3 separate regions of the Homo sapiens genome follow, and regions 1 and 3 are each linked to region 2. The links are contacts of gene promoters, found by promoter capture Hi-C in human tissues and cell types (Jung and others, 2019). All regions are on one chromosome and are shown on one strand. The core of a region is centred on a gene start or on the middle of the fragment in contact, and the rest is flanking DNA. Distances in the headings are between cores, read along the strand shown. Region 1 has its middle 230 kb from the start of MIR552. Region 2 holds the start of GJB5 (gap junction protein beta 5). Region 3 overlaps LOC105378641 (a long non-coding RNA gene).

Region 1 (2,700 bases), core at 127-2,626, 310 kb after region 2:
GCAGTGTGAGCAGGGGCAAGGGACAAAACAAAAGGTGGACTGTGAGGCAGACCCAGTTGAAGCTGCCATGATTGTTTCAGCTTGAAGTTTCCTTCAAAGTCCTCAGCAGAGAGCTCAGCAGAGTTGATGCCCCTGGGCCTGAGCTAGGTGATTGGGAATGCAGCCCAGGCAGTCCTAGATCTCAGACTCTAGGAGCTGATTGGTGTCATGGGGACCCCATGTTAGCTTTGAGAGCATCCGATGGACAAAAGGGGCTTTGCACAGAGAAGAGACCCTGTGAGGTTTAAGAGGGTATTAACTCAGGAGAGAGACCGCCAAGAATGTGTCCCTGAGGGCAACATGGGTGGTGGCAGAGAGAGGGTATTTGCCTTGGCACATTTAACCACTGGTCTCCTCCAGCCTCAGGGAGCCACCCGGACATAGGCTTCCTAATGAGAAGAGTCCTGGGCATTTAGAGACTCCGCATGCTTGTGCAAGCCGAGTCTAAAGTATTCATGGTCTTTAAACTCTTCTGGGTAGGAGCTGACTCTTCAGAAGAGGGTGCAGTAAGAAAGATTCAGAATTAGTCAGATGTTCACAGACTCCCTCGCCCAGGTCTCACCCCAGTCTCTTTCTGTCTTGGCTCTTTCTTCAGGGGCAGATTCCTGGCTCTTGGACTTGACTGGTGCACCCTTTGGTCTCTATCTCTGGTGGCTCATCTCCTTGGCCTTGGTAGCTCCATGACTTTCTGGAATCATAAACTCAACCTGGTTCAGAATTGGCCACTTCTGGGCCAGTGCCTGACCCACCTATGCTGCGACTTAGCACAGTCATTGCCACTGGAACTTCCTCCCATCAGTGTTCAGTGCTCAGAGGAGACAACCAGCTGTGGGAGCTCTAAGAGGGGCTGGGGCAAAGTTCCATCCAATAATCCTGTGGAATTTCTCTCTGGACAGCTGTGGACAGATGTGAGGGTAGTGACTGTTGATGCATATCTGTCCCCTGGAGTAAGAGCCTCAGGGGCTTTGCTCAGCTCTTGCCAGCTGGGAAGAGAGCAGAGCCCAGCCACATCCTTGAAAGGAATAGCAGATGTAATGGCCAGAGGAAGCCGTGTGCAGGGACGCATCTGGAGAGTTCAGAGGACTCATTAGAGCATCATCTTGCTCTGATAAGCTGTTAGTTAAAAGTTCACCTGGAGGGGCTTTTATTGCACCCCACTGAGAATTCCTACCTCCTGCTAGGAGTGCATATTGGGAAGGAAGAATTTTATAGATGGTATAAATGGCTAAATGTCTGAGTGTTAGTTATTCGAGCCTCACGTAATTGTGCTCTTTGGACCTATAGAAACCCAACCCTTTGTTGACTGTGTGGCAATCAAAGGAATAATGTTAGTGCAGAATTAGGGGCTAACCATTGTAATCATAATAACTGTAATAAGAATAGTAGCAGTAATTTATGGAGCTTCTATATGGTAGGCACTCTGCTTAGCACCTGCAGTGGGCTGAATAATACTCCCCCTAAAATATGAACCTGTGAATGTTACCCTATGTGGCAAAAGGGACTTTGCAGATGCAATTAGGTTAAGGATTTTGAAATGAGGAGATTATCCTAGATTATCTGGGTGGGCCCTAAAAGAAATCACAAGTGTCCATATTAGAGGAAGGCAGAGGGAGATTTAGCATAGAGGGGAAAAGGAAATATGACAATGGAAGCAGAGAGTGGAGGGATGTAGCTAACTGCCAAGGAATGCCACAGCCACCAGTAACTGGAAGAGGAAAGGAGTGGATTCTTCCCTGAAGCTTCCAGAAGGAACCAGCCTGCTGACACCTTGATCTTAGCCCTGCAAGACTCATTTCAGACTTCTGGCCTCCAAGACTGCAAGGGAATAAATTTCTGTTGCTTTAAGCTACTAAGTTTGGGGCAATTAGCAACAGCAGCAATAGGAAACCAAACACATACATACCTTGGCTCATTGACTCCTCATCCATCCTGTGAATTAGGCACTATTATGATTTCCATGTACACATGAAGAAACTGTGGTTCAGAGGGGCCAAGTGGCTGCTTCAGGTCAACAGTGCTAGCTAGTGGAAGAGCAGAAAATCAAACTCGGGTCTGTCTGTCTCTGGATCTCATGTCCTTCACCATAAGGCTATACGCCTTGCAACCACAACTCAGTATTGGCCATGATGAAGATGGCAAAGAAATTGGGCAGCCTCTGCAAGATTGGGCTAAGAAATCATGGAGTCAAAATTGAGACTACTTCATGGAGTGTCCTTGGGTACAGACACTGTCATGAGAAAAGCCCCCTGAAGAGAAGGAGGAGACACAGCTACAGGTGTCACAATCAAGATGTTGCAGGGAGGGGAAGTGCATGGAAGTTAGGTTCTGGGATAGACATGGTGGGAGCTCAACCATGGGGAAATAGAAGTAATTGAGGTACCAAGAAGGATGAGAACAAGGGTGGAGGTGCCGATCCAGAAATTGGTGGTGAACATCAGAATCTCTGTGGGCACCTCTGTATGACTGAGCCAGTGTTAAAGGTGTTATTTCCCAGAGAACCCATGCTAGGAGGGGCTGGGGGTTGTGTGTGACTGCAGCCCCTCAAGTCAGATGGGCACAGTGCTTCCCATCCAGAGAGGGTATTGCCCAGGTGCTGCCTGAGGGGTGAATGAGGCAGAACACCAGGTCTAAGACCTTGGTATGGGGTAGAGCTGACAAGGG
Region 2 (2,700 bases), core at 99-2,598:
ATTTATCATCTTGTGGAACAGCCTTGTCAAGACATCAAGTGGGAAATGCTGCTCCTGTCAGTTCTGCTGGTGAATTTGGCCTGATGAACTCACAGAATCAGATTCACCTCCGCGTAAGGACTGTGACTGCTAGGCAGAGTAAGGGGTCCCCACTTCCTCACCCGCGAGTCCTCTGCCTGATTCCTGGAGATGGGGGTGTGTCCATTAAGACCCATGCACTGTGGTTTCAACCAACTGTGCACCCTGGGACCCCAAGGAACCTGTCTGCCTAGCCACTAAAGGGCTCATGATGGCCTTCCCATGCTGGTCCAGGCTGAAGCTCACCAGGCTCTCTGGAGCCTCTGCATGATCAACTGCAAAGCAGAGTAGTGATAACAGCCAATATCCATGAAGCATTCATGCCGTGCCAGGCACCGCTCTAAGTTCTTTGTATGAATCAGTACATTATTCCTTCACAGCAACCTTAGGAAAGGGCATATTTTTTATTCCCAATTTACAGATGAGGAAAGAGGAACACAGAGGGATTAATTAACTTGCTCAACGTCACACAGCTAATAAGTGGCAGAGCTAGGATTTGAACCCAGGCAGGCTGGCTCTAGAGCCCACCCTCCGGGAACTGCCCAGCCTTAGGCCTCAGACCCTTTCCTCAAGTTTCAATGAGCTGCCTGCCTGTTTGTGTGCAGACGGATTCTGTCCTTCCCCTTGTGTGTGGATCCTGGATGAGGGTGGCTGGGGGAACCTTTGCCCACCACCCTGTCTCCACACCACCTGCGCCACTTGGACGGGGGATGGGTGGAGGTGGGGGCCGGGGTTGGGGGGAGCTCTGTTTTGAATCACCATCTTGCATGCTCAGTCCTGTCTAAGGTAGGACTCCTGCAGCTTCTCAGGGAACACCCAGGAAGGCCCCGCCCTTAGCCCCAGGGGCTCTCACCCAGCCCATCCCTACTTGGGGAGGAGTGGGGCAGGGCTTTGCAGGCCCAGGCAGAGCTACCCTGCCTGCTGAGCTTCCGGCCTGGCCCCTGCTCCTACCTTTGCCCGGCTGGGGAGACCTGAAAGAACCCAGAGCCCCTTATTCCTCCACCATCAGGACCCAGGGTGGCAGATGTGTCCAGGCCACATCCCACCACTCCCCAGCAGAGAAGTGTCCTCCTGCCACGTATGCCAAGGGGCAGGGCACATGCGGACACAGATGCCCTTACCTGAGTGACTACTCCTCAGGGCTCTCCTGGCTCCCAGCAGCCGGCAATAGGACTCAGCAAGCAGCTTGAATTTCATATCCAGAAGCGGGGAAGGTTTTCGGGGAAGCCCGTTGAAGCCTGTTTCCAGGACAGAGCCTGCCGGGTGTGCTGGCCCAGCCTGGGAGGAGGAGGAGCTGGGACCTGCACTGCCATTGGCTGGGCCCCAGCCTCCCCAGACTGCTTCTGATGAGGCTCAGGAAACTGAGGGGTTCACTCCTCCCAGGGCGCTGAGCCTCGAATCCTGGTATCCTCTCAGGGGAGAGCCACAGGTCCACTCTGACTCCTTGTTCATCCTCCCATCTGTGGGCTTGTGTGGGAGAAGCTGAGGCCTGAATCCCAGCTCTGCCACTTTCTCACTGTGTGATTTCTTGCCTTCTCTGTGAAAGTGGGAAAAGAACAACACCTACCTCATAGGGTGGATACGTGGATTAACCCAGCCTTAGGGGTGAAGTGCTTAGAACAGTGCCTGACACAAGGGAAGCCCTGTCTACAATTGCCTATAATGCGTGTATACTGCCCAGCACAGGCCTGCCGCATGGTATGTCCTCAAAAAAATGTTTCTTCCTCCTCCTTTTCCTTATTCCTAGGCCTTTTCTTTCTGAGATACAGGGAAGGCAGAGGAGAAGGGAGGGAGAGAGAGACGTATGCACTAGAGAAAATCTCATTTGGATGCATGTTGTCTTTGGGTTAAAAAGGCCAAACCCAAGCCAGGCAGGAACCACAGGAGAGGTGGAGAAGGTGGGCAGGGGCACCTGGGGAAAGCTTCTCATTAGTGCACAGACACGGTCTTTTGGCCTAATTGACTTCCAAGGTGCCCTGTATCAGCAGGTCACTTGGGGTCAGGATTCAACAGACAAAGCATCCAGGAGCCACAAACACCTCATGTCCACAAGCAAACACAATGTAGCTTCACATGAGCATACTCTTACACACAGGCCACAATTATGGGCACAGTGTTGCACACACATGCAGCAGTGGCTTTATTTTATTCACTGCTCTATCCCTTGTGCCTAGTATGGTGCCTGGTGTCTTGTCCAGTTAGGCTTCAATTTATATTTATTGAATGAATGATGTGTGAAATGCACACACCCTGCAGAGAGTCACACATTTCTATACTCCATGCTCTTTCCAAAAAGCTGTTGCCAAGTACAGGAGAGAGGAGGCATATAAAGAGATCAGTTACAACATTGTGAGAAGTCCTAGAAAAGACACAGAGAGAGAAGGGAGTTTTAAGTTCTGCCAGAGGGAGAGCCGGAGAAGGTAACATTTAAGCTGGGTCTTGAAGGATGTATAGGAGTTTACCAAGAAGAGATGCTGAGGAGGGGCCTTTGAGGCAGTGGGCACATAGCGTGCAGAGGACCTTTGTGAAAAATAATGGAAGAGCATTGGAGAGTGGGCTGGGTAGTGGTGGGGACACCACATGGCAAGGAGCCTGGAAGGTCAGCAAAGACCTTCCAGACCA
Region 3 (2,755 bases), core at 133-2,632, 290 kb after region 2:
CCTTCAGTCATTGGGAGAGAGTTGGGGACTTAGCTGTGTCTGGGGCTGGTGTATCGGCTATGTTCTGCAGAGGCACAACCCCAAATTCTAGAGCCAGCTCCTTCCCCACCCCCACCCCCACAACCCCTGCTTTTACCAATAAAGGTATCACTGTCCATGGCCAGAGACTGGAAAATTCCTGGTTGCTGGTCAGAGCAAAGGGAGACCAGCTGGAGTGTCCTGCGGGGCCATCATAAAGAAGATGGTTAGTGGACTTTCCTGGATGTTACCTCTTCTCTGGCTTAAGTCCTCCCCTCTGTCTGGTGCTCCTCCTGACAGCCCGGGGAGGGCTGGTGTGTTTCCTGCTGTTTGCATCTCAGAGGGATGAAGCAATTTTGGAGGAGTATTGACCCTAAATTCTAGTCATGCTTTAATCCCCCTGTGGGAGGTTCCCATTATCTCTTTAGTGTAAAACACATTATTAATGGATTATGCTTTCACCAAGTAAAGGTCTTTTTAGAAATGATTTTAAGAATCCCAACCTGGATTTTCTTTTCAGAAATACTACTTTCATGGCTCTGGCTATGAACATCAGCATATAGAGAATGGATCACTACCAAAGAAGGCACCCGAATGTGTCTGTCTCATCCTGGGGAAACTCATTCATCTGTATATGTACTCAGCAAGTGTTTCCTGGCACCTGCTCTGGGTCACAGTGCTGGGCACTGGAAGCTGAGAGATGTGGAAGAAGGCTGGACATTCAAGGTATGCACCCACACCTGCCTAGGGGACTCGTACCTGCAAACAAACAAAAGATCACAGTGCAAGCTGACAAATACTCTGATAGAGGTGTGGGAAGAAATGCTCCAGGAGCTCAGTGGATTGGTGAAGTTTGCTTCATTCATTTAAGCAAATAAAAATGGGTTCTGGATACATTCAGCAAAAGATGATTTGGAAGGCAAGAAAGATCTTGATCACCAAGCTTATGTGCTTGATCTTGTGCTATCCAGAGGGCTTCTGGCTAATTCATTGAACTTAAAGATGAGAGATATAATTTTCTTTTACAAAAAGACAAGTTTTCCAAATTTGCTGACCTTTCCAATGATGACAGGTAGCTGTTGCTATTAGATATTTTTGAAAAAGTAAACATCTGTAATCTGCCCTTTCAAGGTAAAGGCGATATTTTTTTAACAATGAGTGAGAAAGGAACTGTTTTTTGAAACAGGTTTGTGTGCACAAAAGGAAGAACATTTTAAAATGGATGTTTGAAGTGTTTCCACCATTACATGATCCTATTGCCTAAAATTTTGTCAGGGTGTCACTTATAAAAATTGTTATATCTGTGTTCTATAAAAACTTGGAAACAAAATTTCCTAAAGTGTTAAAAAATCTCCTACATAAAAAAACCTGGAGGACTTTGTACACATTTGTTCAAAATGTAGAAATGCTGCATCTTCCAATTCATTTGCAGAAATGAACAATTGATACGTGGAATACAGAGATCTAGTAAGCAAATGTTCACATTGTCTGTATAATTGGTAGGTGGGATTGAAAATGGGTCTAACATGTACAAAGTGCAGCCAGTAAGTATGTCTCCCACTGTGATCTCCATGTCTTTTGCATGCCTTTCAGCCTAAGTCATGAAAACCATGTACTAAATAAACATACTTTCAACTTGACCTTCAAATGATTATATCAAAAAGTGTTAAGCTAAGATTTTTAAAAGTATCAAAGCATTTATGATGAGCAAGTACATAGCTCTCATTATTTTATTTAATGGTTGAAAATTATATATATATATATAAATATAAATGTTTTATAATTTTCAACCGTATGTATCTTCAACCTTAAAATTTTCTATTTTTTGTGCAAAATTTCCATGACACTTAGCACATTACAGATATCTAATTTATAAATAAACAAATAAGCAGACATGTTTATGTTGAAGTTGCATTATCAAAAAGTTTTGATGGATGAGATGTTGATCATGAAACTGGGAAACTTCTCCTGTCCTCAATGGGGTCACCCTAAAGGAAATTAACATATGGGAGTGAGAGGACATACTTTTGTCTTAGAGAGGTGAGTTTTGCAACAGTGTGGAGAATGATTGGAATCAAGGAAACCAATGAAAAGGGTGTTTTGATAACTGGTGCCATGTGATGAGGGTCTGAATTAAGGTTGAGAAAGTGGGAAGGAAGAAGAAGCCAATTAGGAACAACTCCTCTCCATCTGCTGCACCTGCCTAAGTCACATTCTATTCATCTGTTACATCTCGTGTCTTGTCATCTACACCAGGAAGCCTTCCCTGATTTCCTAGGCTGGCGTGGGTTCCTCTCCTTTGGGCTCCAACAGCACCTGTGTTTTTTATAGTGTCGCTTTCATCACACTGTTTTGTAACTGTTTCTTTACTTGTCTGCCTGCTACTCTGTGCACCAGAAGCAGAGAGCTAGTTAGTGCCTGATTTTTGTTTCTGATTCATGGTAGGTACTTTGTCAATGCCTCTGAATGAACAATGCAGAATTTGACAAGACTGACTGGACGTTGAGGAAGTAAAGAGAGGTTGGGAATTTCCGAGATCAAATTTTCAAAATACAGAGTTGTTCTATCAGGCCCGTGGACACTTTTTCTTTGCCTTCATGTTGCTCTCAAAACTTTTTAATTAGCTGCCAACCCTAAAAATTTAGAAGGTTTCATATTAATATCTGAATTTCCAGCTTCTTTAAAAAAATCAGAGGAGCAGGAAACGCTGGGTTCATATTTCTATATGGCAGCATCA

Evidence for each region. The method cuts DNA at HindIII sites, captures the fragments that hold promoters and counts their contacts. A contact is called where the count stands out against the background at its distance.
Region 1: a contact is called between a fragment that was not itself captured here and the fragment with the promoter of GJB5 in region 2, in 2 of the 25 tissues and cell types used here (IMR-90 fibroblasts and lymphoblastoid cells).
Region 3: a contact is called between a fragment that was not itself captured here and the fragment with the promoter of GJB5 in region 2, in 2 of the 25 tissues and cell types used here (mesendoderm cells and thymus).

What each region holds. Positions count from the first base shown.
Region 1 is chr1:34,443,031-34,445,730 of GRCh38, reverse strand. No RefSeq gene overlaps it. Among named protein-coding and RNA genes, the nearest start is that of MIR552, 230 kb to the left of the region's middle. The HindIII fragment of the contact is 4,526 bases long and covers 1-2,700 here.
Region 2 is chr1:34,753,695-34,756,394 of GRCh38, reverse strand. It overlaps GJB5 (gap junction protein beta 5), which reads right to left and starts at 1,348. Exons shown (of 2, transcript NM_005268.4): 1 at 1,200-1,348. The HindIII fragment of the contact is 2,696 bases long and covers 1-2,479 here.
Region 3 is chr1:34,467,770-34,470,524 of GRCh38, reverse strand. LOC105378641 (a long non-coding RNA gene) reads left to right here. Exons shown (of 9, transcript XR_001737964.2): 6 at 539-744. Among named protein-coding and RNA genes, the nearest start is that of MIR552, 200 kb to the left of the region's middle. The HindIII fragment of the contact is 3,632 bases long and covers 1-2,755 here.